Regions from separate parts of the Homo sapiens genome. Here region 1 is linked to region 2. The links are contacts of gene promoters, found by promoter capture Hi-C in blood cells and fetal thymus (Javierre and others, 2016). All regions are on one chromosome and are shown on one strand. The core of a region is centred on a gene start or on the middle of the fragment in contact, and the rest is flanking DNA. Distances in the headings are between cores, read along the strand shown. Region 1 has its middle 20 kb from the start of PREP. Region 2 holds the start of LIN28B (lin-28 RNA binding posttranscriptional regulator B).

The links. Contacts are between HindIII fragments. The CHiCAGO score rates a contact against its expected background, and 5 or more counts as called.
Region 1: a fragment that was not itself captured here is called in contact with the fragment with the promoter of LIN28B in region 2 in 1 of 17 cell types (fetal thymus); the score reaches 5.2 in fetal thymus.

What each region holds. Positions count from the first base shown.
Region 1 is chr6:105,420,187-105,426,354 of GRCh38, reverse strand. No RefSeq gene overlaps it. Among named protein-coding and RNA genes, the nearest start is that of PREP, 20 kb to the right of the region's middle. RefSeq lists an enhancer at 1,885-1,934. The HindIII fragment of the contact is 2,701 bases long and covers 357-3,057 here.
Region 2 is chr6:104,954,229-104,961,282 of GRCh38, reverse strand. LIN28B (lin-28 RNA binding posttranscriptional regulator B) reads right to left here and starts at 4,176. Exons shown (of 4, transcript NM_001004317.4): 1 at 4,023-4,176; 2 at 2,997-3,184. The coding sequence starts at 4,032. RefSeq lists enhancers at 3,288-4,225, 4,226-5,163. The HindIII fragment of the contact is 2,336 bases long and covers 3,803-6,138 here.

The DNA.
Region 1 (6,168 bases), core at 458-2,957, 470 kb before region 2:
TTGAGGCCTGATGCACTATTTGCATTTTATCCTTAAAATGGCTCTTTTATCCATTTTCCAACATGTACTTCCATATGCATAAGAAGCATGATTTTTCTTATAAGTGATAATTAGAAAAACCCAGAAAGATCAATTTAAATAAAACAATTAAATACATATAAGAAATGGACGTGCCTTAAAACTGATATGAATAAATCAGAAATATTTTAGGCAAACAGAGTAACATCCAGTCAAGTTTAGAATTGGGGGCTAAAGTGTTCATCTGAAGGATAGAAGATTTTAGTGGGATGTCAAATCCTGTAGGCCAGCAAAATAAAAAAAAAATCTAATCAAGAATTCTTAGACTTGTGAAAGCTTGTTGGAAAGAAGCTAATGGCAATGATGGAAAGGTATGTAGGTATACAGCCACAAACACACAAAACCAAATGTTCTAAGAGAATAGATTCTGAAGAGGTAAGTCAAGAAAGGTAAAAAAGGAATAGAGGGCAAAGAAAATTCTTTTTTTTACGTTTTTTATTTTATTTTATTTTAGGTTCTGGGGTACACACGCAGGATGTGCAGGTTTGTTACATAGGTAAACATGCGCCCTTATGATTTGCTAGACCTATCAACCCATCACCTAGGTATTAAGCCCAGCATGCATTAACTATTCTTCCTGATGCTCTCCCTCCATCCATGCCCTCCACCCTGCCAGGCAGGCCCCAGTGTGTGTTGTTTCCCTCCCTGTGTCTATGTGTTCACATTGTTCAGCTCCTATTTATAAGTGAGAACATGCAGTGTTTGGTCTTTCTGTTCCTGTGTTAGTTTGCTAAGGATAATGTCTTCCAGCTCCATCAATGTTCCTGCAAAGGACACGATCTTGTTCCTTTTTATGGCTGCACAGTATTCCATGGTGTATATGTACCACATTTTCTTTATCCAGTCTATCATTGATGGGCATTTGGGTTGATTCCATGTCTTTGTTATTGTGAATAGTGCTGCAATGAACATACACATGCATGTATTTTTATAATAGAATGACTTATATTCCTTTGGGTATATATCCAGTAATGGGATTGCTGGGTCAAATGGTATTTCTGGTTCTAGATCTTTCAGGAATTGCCACACCATCTTCCACAATGGTTGAACTAATTTACACTCCCACCAACAGAAAAAAGTGTTCCTATCTCTCTGCAGCCTCACCAGCATCTGTTGTTTCTTGACTTTTTAATGATCACCATTCTGACTGGCATGAAATCATATCTCATTGTGGTTTGGATTTGCATTTCTCTAATGATCAGTGATGTTGAGCTTTTTAGATAATCCTATTCTTAAGACTTTGAAGTTTTATGGCAAATTTTGTGGTGCCAGATAAATCCTTAATAACACACCTTGTGTTTGTACTGTACTGTGATGAGAGATTGCCTTATTAGTAGATAATATTTTTAAAAATATTTGTACGTGATTTCTAAAGCAGACTGGAAGCAGACAGTCCTGGGTTAAACACACAGGATGAGTGATCTTGGCAGTTGTAGGTGGTATGCACCAGTGATTTCATAGGAACAGTATTCATCAGAATAGACTGGAAGCAACTGGTATCACTGCAGACTTCTAGGGTACCTCAGGGAATGGTTTCCTAACTCTTTTTAAGGATCTGGGTGACATATTGGCTAACGTACTCGAGGACCAAGAAAGGATCCATGGCTTAGAAACAAGAGTAAACATCAGATATTGGCCGTAGAATTAAATGTCACTGAAAAGATTAAGCCAGGAGCCAGGGAGTAACCTTAAGCAGAGAAGTCTCCCTTTCCAAGAGCCTCATGCTACATTTGCAGAAACTGTCCAAGAGCCTAAGCATCTCTAAGTTCTATATGAATAGGAAACTTCACCAGATAAGGAAAGGAAATCAAGTGCTATAGAGATTGATGAAGCCGTTTATCTAGGGTGAACTTCAAGTACTTGGCAATGGGAGCCCCCCATTTTAGGGTAAATCCGAGTTCAGACCAGCAGAGGGCAGTGTAGCAAACTTTGAAACCTCAAACGGCTGGGACTTAAAGAGAGTATGAATCCAGTACTGAGGGGCTGTTAGTGAAGAAGGGATGAAGGACTATCTGTGGGATCAGGGCTGCCTTGAAAAGATAAAGAAATGGTCAGCACTGCACTCCAGCGTGGGCAACAGAGAAAGACCCTGTCTACAATACAGTACAATACAATACAGTACAATACAAAACACACAGAAATGATCAGGAGTGAACCTACACTTGTGATGTGTAGGTATGAGAAGTGGAACAATTAGGAATTAATCTCCACTTCATTTCAAAGAAGATGGATCAGTAAGCAGCTGGTCCCTTTTTTCTGACTCCAGGAACAGGAAAAGGACCACAACAAGTCACAGTCACTCTTTCGGGAATCTGCAACTGGCACCCCCGATTCTTCTGCCCAGGTGAAATCCTAACACTCAGCTTTCTCCTGCACACCTCTTCTTGATATAGGCTTGACAGGGGGCTGGCACTGTGGTGCTGTGGATCATGAGAAGCCCTTACCTCCCCATCTGCTGCCAGCCCACATAAATGGAGAAATAGCCCACCCTGTTCCAAGGTGGAGAGGACATAAAAACATTGCTTCCTTCCTTACCCACTGGAATTCAAATCATTAGGCTTCCACTTTTAAAAGTGTTGGTATATTATGAGAAATTTGTTTTGTCTCCATATGTGGGTTAGAGAAGGGGACAAGTGAACTATTTTTACTGTGAGTTTTTTCTTTGAGTTTATTGCCCAGTCTAAGCTGTAAAAAGAGGTCCTAGGGGGCATTCAGAATTGCTGTCCCTTAAGCCAGTAGATGGCAAGTGCTGAGAAACACTGCAACTGTAAGACACCAGTATAAACCCAGAAGCCTCACTCCACTAACTCTTGGAAAGAAATGTGTGCAGAAAGACATCCTGAAGACCTGAGTGACCGCTCAGTGAGGGGTCAAAGGAGCTTTCCTACTGGCAGGCTATGGAATACTTTGTCTATAAAAATGGAGATTTCCTTACATTACATGGCAGTTAGCATGCTTACTAGTGATCCACCTCAAGCTTTTACTACTGCAGAACCACCTGTGCCTTGCTTTCTTGCTGGTCCCTAAATAGCATGTCATGGCAGATTGTGAATGCTTTAAGTTCTGTGAGCAGTAATTACTCAGGACCTTCTCCAAGTCCCTCTTTTCTGTTTTACAGTTCACAATTCACAAAAGCTTTGATTTTCCAGGCCCCAAACTCTGGATCTCATACCCTAAATTTGGTGTCTGCCTTTGGAACTTTCAGATTTGGCAGGTTTCAAACCCTAACCAGGTTCTTGGATCTTGGTCCCATAGCATGGCTTTAAGTATTGTCTCCAACCTAAAGGGTGTCCTATTGCCTCCAAGGAGGGCCCCTCGTTCCCTCTGCCACATGTAACTGGCCAATGAGACCAGCCTCTGGTCCCCAAGACCTCCAAAGGGAACTTTGAATTGTCAGCAGCTCAGCGGGGTATCTAGAGAAAACATCCCCTCCATTATATGACAGATAAGTTGACAAAACAGGCCCACAGAGTAGTCTTAGACCACTTGTATCTCTGATACCAGGGTTATGCCAGAAAATTCAAGATCAATTAAACATGAATTTAAAACAATCCATGTCCACCATGACTTTCTGAGTGGACAGAAAATAAGAAATCAATAAATACTGTCTGAGGTTTAAACTTGTACTTAAGTAAGAACACACACATGCACACACATAAGAACATTCCATAAAGACTATAGCATTATGATTTTATATGTACTATTATTTATTAAACTGATGCTCCTAAAAAAGTAGAGGAAAATGCAGTTCTGTTTACTTTTCATAATATTACCTCCAAAGAGCTCTTTTGAGAACTAACATCTCTAGATTTTTTTTTTTTTTTTTTTTTGAGATGGAGTCTCACTCTGTTGCCAGGCTGGACTGCAGTGGTGCGATCTCAGCTCACTGCAACCTCCACTTCCCAGGTTCAAGCAATTCTCCTGCCTCAGCCTCCCAAGTAGCTGGGACTACAGGCATGCGCCATCACGACCAGCTAATTTTTGTATTTTTAGTGGAGACAGGTTTTCACCATGTTGGCCAGGATGGTCTCAATCTCTTGACCTCGTGATCTGCCCACCTCAGCTTCCCAAAGTGCTGGGATTACAGACATGAGCCACCACTCCTGGCCTAACATCTCTAGTTTTAAAGAAAAGTCTATCTGAAGTTTCAGCAATTCCATCAGTTTTACTTTTTCTTTTTCTTCTGTTAAAGTCAAGCAAATATCAATACAGATGTTCCTCAACTTACCATGAGGTTATCTCCTGATAAACCTGTCATAAGTCAAAAATATTGTAAGCCAAAAATGCATTTAATACCCAGATATACCCATTGTAAAGTCAAAAAATGATAAGTTAAACCATCATAAGTTGGAGACCATCTGTAGTTATTATTTAAAAATAGTGTGTATAATATAATCCATTGTGTACATACTCAACAATTTATTCAATCTACTATTGGTGGACATAAGTTTGGTTTCTAGTTTGGTGCTATTATGCACAAATGCTGCCATAAACATTCTTGTATGTATATCCTGGTGCACATGCCCATAAGCTTCTCTTAAAAATACCTGAGTGGGATTACTGATGTAACATATATGAATCTTCAACTTTACTAGGCAAAGCAAAACTGCTTTTCAATGTGGTTTTACCAATCTACATTCCTTCAAGAAGTGCATGAGAAGAATCTCTCTTGTTATACATCCTTCCCCTATACTTGGTATTTTCGGAATTATTGTATCTTTTTTTTTTTTTTTTTTTTTTTTTTTTGAGACGGAGTCTCGCTCTGTTGCCGAGGCTGGACTGCAGTGGTGCAATCTCCGCTCACTGCAAACTCCACCTCCCGGGTTCACGCCATTCTCCTGCCTCAGCCTCCCGAGTAGCTGGGACTACAGGTGCCTGCCACCATGCCTGGCTACTTTTTTGTATTTTTAGTAGAGACGGGGTTCACCGTGTTAGCCAGGATTGTCTCGATCTTCTGACCTCCTGATCTGCCCACCTCAGCCTCCCAAAGTGCTGGGATTACAGCTGTAGCCACCACGCCCGGCCCAGAATTATTGTTTCTAATCTAGTGGATCTGTAATGATACCACACTGTGGTTTAAATGTGCATTTCCCTGATTCCTAGTGAAATTAAGTACTTTTTCTTTTATTTTTTTAATTATACTTTAAGTTCTAGGGTACATGTGCACAACGTGCAGATTTGTTACATATGTATACATGTGCCATGTTGATGTGCTGCACCCATTAACTCGTTATTTACATTAGGTATATCTCCTAATGCTATCCCTCTCCCCACCCCCAACCCCACGACAAGCCCCGGTGTGTGATGTTCCCCTTCCTTTGTCCAAGTGTTCTCATTGTTCAATTCCCACCTGTGAGTGAGAATATGCGGTGTTTGGTTTTTTGTCCTTGCTATAGTTTGCTGAGAATGATGCTTTCCAGCTTCATCCATGTCCCTACAAAGGACATGAACTCATCCTTTTTTATGGCTGCATAGTATTCCATGGTGTATATGTGCCACATTTTCTTAATCCAGTCTATCATTGATGGACATTTGGGTTGGTTCCAAGTCTTTGCTATTGTGAATAGTGCCACAATAAACATACGTGTGCATGTGTCTTTATAGCAGCATGATTTATAATCCTTTGGATATATACCCAGTAATGGGATCGCTGGGTCAAATGGTATTTCTAGTTCCAGATCCTTGAGGAATTGCCACACTGTCTTCCACAATGGTTGAACTAGTTTACAGTCCCACCAACAGTGTAAAAGTGTTCCTATTTCTCCACATCCTCTCCAGCACCAGCTGTTTCCTGACTTTTTAATGATAGCCATTCTAACTGGTATGAGATGGTATCTCATTGTGGTTTTGATTTGCATTTCTCTGATGGCCAGTGATGATGAACATTTTTTCATGTGTCTGTTGGCTGCATAAATGTCTTCTTTTGAGAAGTGTCTGTTCATATCCTTCACCCACTTTTTGATGGGGTTGTTTGTGTTTTTCTTGTAAATTTGTTTGAGTTCTTTGCAGATTCTGGATATTAACCCTTTGTCAGATGAGTAGATTGCAAAAATTTTCTCCCATTCTGTAGGTTGCCTGTTCACTGTGATG
Region 2 (7,054 bases), core at 2,927-5,426:
CCTATTTTATTAAACATTTTTTAAAAACTTCAACAGTGAGATATGACAAAATTCACAAATATAATACTTACATATTTTGTTAATTTTTTAAAAATAAAATATTCATTATTGAACTATATCAATGTTTCACAATTAACATGGGTCAGAATATATATTTTCACATCATAAAAATATGATTATTTAAATTACAAATTAACATTAGAAAATCAAATGAAGACTGTCATTTTAAACCATCAATGGTTACATACCATCCTCAAATAGCAGAATCTCACAGCATTTATCAACATGTCTAAAGAGAGACTAAAGAGAGACAAAGTACAGCACCTAGGCATGTGTTTCTTTTTGAGGATTTGGTGACATCACAGGAACTACAAGAAAGTTTGATGGTATTACTGCCAATAAATTTTAAGTAGAGTTATGTAACTATAAATATACATAACTACAAATACACAGCTCAATTTTAAAACACACACATATATATATTCTCTTTATTTTGAAGCAACTGAATATGTTTTGATATGCTGTTACATGCAATCAATATTTTTAAGAGAAAAAGTATCCTAGGTTCCTCAGCATAAATTTTTATGTATTTATTAAGGACACAAATAATTTGTTTTTTATTTCTCCAAATATACATTATTAAAAATGTTTCAGAATACTTCAAAAAAAAAATCCAGTGACACATGTACTTCCAAACACTTCAAAAAAAACTATGTCATATATTTTAAAAATTTTGAGTAGACATAGGTCCAGTTGAACATTTAAAATTCCTAATCACCTATGATACATATCCTTTCACAACAAAATAGTACATAGACATAAAACCTGGTATGTTTTCAAAAATGCTTATAAAACTAAAAAGGCCTCTAAAATAATAATAAAAATGTTTTTTAAAATTCTATGAAATCGTCTTGAATTGCAACCTTATTCCATAAGTGATGCACACATAATACCTGTATCATTTACAACCATCTGTTACTTGTAGTTGCTTAGCTAACATCAGTAGGATTCCTGCCTTCTTCAAAACAATTATTCATACAATTTATATACAATTTATGTATATTACAATATAAGAAACCTCTTTAACTAGGCATCATTTAATACTGTCCTTTTAATATATACATGAACTGTATGTATATACTACTGTATGTAACTGAATATTAAGTCAACTATTTAAAAATCAATGTTTATAGTATAGAAACAGCTATATATTTAAAAAACTTCAGCAGCTACATGTTTTAATTCAGTGAATAGAGGAATGTTTATCAATATATAATCATTAAATAGTATAAACACAAATGTCTTGTTGTTCTAAACATTAACATTGGTTAATAAAATATCTTAACATTTGATGAATATTTTAGAAGGTAAACATAGAAAATCAAATTATAAAAAGGCGTGACCAGACAAAGAAGGGTTATTTTTTTCATTCATCTATAAAACAAATTTATGAGATCATAAAAAACAATTTAACAACCTAAAGAAGGTTCAAAGGTGGAAGAAAGAGCCTGAGAGAAAATGGATTTGTCTATGATTTTTGTCATCCAGTCTTAGAGGGGAAAAAACAGAAAATGTAGCTTCATTTTGCACTATAAAATAGGAAGCATAAAATCCAGTAGTCTGTATGTGGACTTGTATTTGTGTACTTAAACCCTGTTTCAATTCACAGATTATGCTGATCCTTCCACATATAAACAGCCAATAATGATGGCCAGGCCTTCAGGAAAGGAAAACACACACCACACAGCAAGGTCAGGAAGCTACCAAGCACCACAGGACAACAGATCAAAACAGAATGGTTTCATATGTTTCTATTGTTTATATATTTAATTTGAAGATGATATTCCTTAGGGAAGGGGGTATAAATATTACTAGGAACATGCAACACAGTATCAAATATATACTTTTCAAGCAAATATACCAAATATTTCACCCATGTATCTGTCAGTCAATCTGTAGTATTAACAGCCTTTCATTCAATTCTTTTTAACTTAGATTATCATGCCAAAATAAACCTCTTTAGTCGTAAACCTCTTTATTTCTAACTACAGAAAATTTATATTTACCTTTTTTTGAGGAAACAACCGGCTTCCATAAAAGTATCTTTTTTACTATAAAGGGATTAAGCAGTAGAGAGGAGTAAAGGCAGAAGTATTAATTCATTATTTCCTGGGTAAAATTTTGAAAATGGGAAGCAATGAAATTCTGTTTGGTATTAAAACATCTTTAAAAATTACAACACAATACGAGCAAAGGTGGAAATTTACCCCAAGTAGCAGACCAGCACATTTTAAACACACAAGCAAGAGCCGCCTCTGGCCACATGTTTTTTTGAGTTCAGTCTCTTAAAGAGACAGTATACGTAGACCAATGACTACACGGAGCACATTTCTAAAATGTTTATCAAGCATCCCTCTATTGCACGCATTTCTTTACAACCACATTAGGCCAACAGTGTTCTATTTTATTTTACTATGAAGTCAAATTATTTTGATCTGAATCTACAAAATGATTACAGGACAGGCAGCGATGAAATAATAAAGGGAGCTACTGTGACTAGAGGTGTCTAAAATAAGGCAATCTATACATTTCTTTCCACAGCAAACTGTTTCGCTTTGTTTTTTCAACCTTAAAATGATCATGTTTCTTCATTTTTCTACCCATTCACCAGATACAGGCGACAAAGTATATTGTATAGGTAATACCGGAAACAACAAGAACACTATTTCGCTGTAGAATGAAGCAGGGGGAAATGCTAATAACGTCAACCTTAATATATATAGTGAAATTTCAAATATTTTCTTTTCTCTTTAGACAGAAAACCCAGGAAAAGGCCCATACACGTACCCTAAACGTTGGACTACCTAGTGATTTCAGGGAAGATTTTGTCTTTCAATATACCGAAGGACATCTTATCGTACGTCTATTGGCATAACTACCGATCAGCTCCTCCACATGGAAAAAGATGAAGAGGGGGACAAAAAAGTTTGGCTTACTTGGTGTACAAATACATCGACTGGAATATCCAAGGGGCTTCCCTCTCGGTTTATCATGGAGATGAATCCAAATCCCATGCGCACATTGAACCACTTACAGTGGCCAGTTCCGCGCAAAACCTGGGATTCCTCCTCTGCCGGCTCCGGCAGCTTCCCGGGCTCTTCTCCACCACCTTTGCTAGCCCCGCCTGAGAAGGAACAGGACAAAAAAGTCAGTCTGTATTCCCATTCAATGTGCATTCAAAGATTAAAAAAAAAAAATTGCCTGCCTGGGGTTGGGGGGGAAGGGTAACAGAAAAAAAAAATTTTTTTTAATGGTTTGATTTCTTTTCTCCACAGAAAATACTTAAAATGAAAAGGGTTAAAAGGAAAGCGGGGGAGGGGGAAGCCACACTGTTCTATCGATCACACCAACTTCCACGTTTCTATACATACGTGTACTTATTCATTTAACTCCATTTTTCAGCCACATTTTACATTACAGCATGCGATACTTTACTTGTATATTGCTGATTTAATACTGATCCCATTGACAAAGAGAAATTTTCAGCGAAACTATTCTCTCCGGCGGGCACGAGGAGGAAAGAGAAATCGTGAAGATGGTTTAGAGCTACTAGTTAAGGCACATGGGGCAGCACTGAATCCAGCGTTATTTGCAATGTGCATTCCCCTCCCCCCCATAACTTTCAATTAAAGTTGGGGTGGAATGGGGGAGGGGGCAGGTGTATAAAAGTTTTCTTGGAATCACTAACTGAAACTGCGCTTAATCACACTCACACAATTCAAACAATAGCCCCCTGAAAGCTTTTCAAGTTGTGAATCAGTGTGGGCGGTACAAAACATTTTTGGAGATCTATAACAATAGGTTTGCAGAAAGCCCCACTGCGTGATGGGGGGTTGGGAGGTAATGCCCAGTATTGGGGTAAAAGGGGAAGGGGGGGACGGTCTAAGAAGGGTGGGAGAGGGGGAGGGGGAGGAGAAAAGAAGAAAGAAATTCACAGTAAAACAATAGAAAAGAAAATTAACCTTCGGCCATGTTGCCCCACGGGCCCTCAGCTCCAAACTCGTGAGATGAAAACTTTCCCTTTGGAACGGAGTGATCTTCTGCATCAATCTAACATCTTGATTTTGTGCGATCACAAATTTAGCTCGCATGGTCTAATGTGCTTTCCTTCTTTTGATTTTTTTCTCTCCTCTCTCCAGTTTCTGGCCCCCTGAGCACACGTGACTTTGTCAATTACATGCTTTCTTGCTACTAATTTCACCTCGTATCCTTAAGGGGCTGGCAAGAGGAAGAGATAACCAATCGCCATTTCATCTATGCTGACATCAAAATAATTTATGAATGAACACGAAAAACTCAAACATGTTATCTTAAAGACAATTTGGAACGCTTCTTTAGGATAAATCAGAATGCTGATTTCGTGCTTCTACTTAAACACAATGGAGGGACCTTGTGAATCATAGATTTAGAAAAAAAGGCAGTCATATATGTGCACACGCGTGCCTTACACACAAGCCTGACTAAAATCATGGGAGGGGGTCGTTTAAATAAAACAACCGATGTTAACGCTTTTTTTCCCCTTAAGAATTCAGCTATTCCATGGCAGTAAACCTGCTTGGAACGCTAATTTCATATTTAATTCAATTCTTAGAGGAAAATATATAATTTATAAAAGATCTAATTAAACCTAATTACATCCCCATGAAACTTTAGATAATGAAAACATACACCTAGGAAAAGGCAGAGGCACATAAATTACCTGATTATGCCCGAAATTTTTTCAAATTTAAAATAAAATCCTACTAGAAAAATCGTTTTCACCTTCATATAGTCAAATTGTGTTTAGGTAAACCATTTTGGAAAATTTTAGAGGGGGTTGGTAAGGAATTGTACTTCACAGGTTTCTCTGCCATCTCTTTCCGGGGGAGGAGATGTGATTAATGACTTCCTAAATAACAGCCCAGTTTTCCAGCCTAACATAGAGTGAACCTCAATCAGTGGCGATTGTTCCCCAAGAGCTGGAGGACATAGGGCAGGAGGGGGAGGGGATCGCCAGGCAGGGGAGGTGAAGAGGAGCCGCCAGGATAGGCGGCAGCAGAGTCAAAGAAAGAGGTGGGAGAGAAAAAAAGCCGGCGCGGGCAGGGGGTGGGGTGGAGAAAGAAGGACAAGTGGGAGAAAAAAGGTAAATTCATATCATATTGACTTGTACCCTGACATTTTAAAAGTCCACTACCAATGGCTAGAAGAGTTGAATAAACGAAAATGTAACAACGGATGAAGCTCCTACTGTCCTTCCTCAACTGACCCCCAGTTTCAAAATGCCTACCCCCTTTACCTTTCAAACTGGTTCAAACGATTGATTACAAGATGCTGGCAACAGTATTTCTGCCCTTATCGAATACTATAATAAATATTATAGATTAACTAAAAAGACTTTATTTCCTTTAAAATATAAAATATCGCTATTTTAAAACCTTAAAATGCACCACCAGACTTGCCTACCCCACCCCCCATTTTCTTAAACAAGCAGTTTACCAAGAAACTAACTGTTCAGATACCACTTCCTTCGACAAAGCTACCGAGTTGACCCTCCCCCACCATGCCAGCAATCCCCCTCCCAGTCTCTTCAAACACATCCACACTCCAGCACTGTTTCACACAAGCTAAAATGTAGGGATTATGAATCGAAGAGCTATGGAAAAAGCTGTATACACCTATTTATACTCCCTCCCCATATTAAACAACTAAATATAAATTTAATTGGCTCAGATTGGAAAATGGATGTATAAAAAATAGAAGTTATTTTCAGCTGTTTTTGATAAAAGGTTTAATGAAAACTAATCAATTTGGAAAGATTTTTTTTTTTGTCTGTTATTCCTTTTGTTATTTCTCAGGAAAAAGGGCTACTTTCTCATTTTATTTATTTTGGGAGGAATAATCCTGTGCCAGCTGTTAGGGAGAAAAGAAAAGGTGCAAAAATCCAATGACTTTGAAAGTTTAACAAAAGCTCAAAGCTCTGAAAAAATTATTTACTAACAAAACATTTACTAGGCATTATTTTGATGGTAGAAATTACTTCTATTATACTGATTACACTGACAAGAAAGTAATCTCAATGATGGCATTACAGGCTAAGCTTGTGACATAATATGAAATCGAGAAAGTAATTTATATTTTTTCATATTTTAATAATCACTTTAAAAAATCAACATCTGGTATAAGAGGAAAAAAATCTCAGAAAGTATTCATGTAAATTGAGGTGAAATGCTATTACTTACATAAAAGTAATGATCACAAAATTCACAGGCCAGTATAGTTTAGCTTTGTAAAATATTCATTTAAGTTTGCTTTTAATTAGAAAACAGTTTAATCATTATAAAACCAGAAGCATAATAATGTAGGTAGATTCAGAATCTGTTTATTGTTAAATTTGATGAAATTCAAATTTATGAACATGTGGGTGAAAAGTGGAATACCATAACTGAACTACACTGTACAGTATAGTTATGAGATTCACAGTCTTGCCTGATTGGGGGCCTCCAGTATTAGTGGAATTAAGGTAAGGTTCACTGGAGTGGTCACTGGTGTCAGAGGTTATCGACTCATTCATTTCCTGAGAGGGACATCAGCCTTTCAAGTTGTGTAGAAGGCTTTTTCCAACTGGTAACCCTGAAAAATCCTCTAAAATTCGTTCATGAAGAATTTAAGACAAATGCATTTACATACCTTGGGGGAGGGTAAAAGAAAGGGGAAGAGAAGAGGCGAGGGAAGGGTAGAGGGAAAAGGAAGAAGAAAGCAAGGAAGTTGGAAAGGGAGAGAAGTAAAGGAAGGAGACACATTGAGAAACACAAAATAATCACTCACCAATTTAAGAATATGGCACTGTTTTTTCTGTGCCTTCCCCCAAAACTTTTGAGCCTAAAATCCTTTTATAATATAAATTGCCCATAAGCTTTTAAAGCTCCTAGAGTGCTTCTTTCACAGAAAGTCGTCCTATGAGTCTTCTAGAATGCTTTCCAATTTGTCACTTTCCTGAAGTCTTCTGGTTTTAATT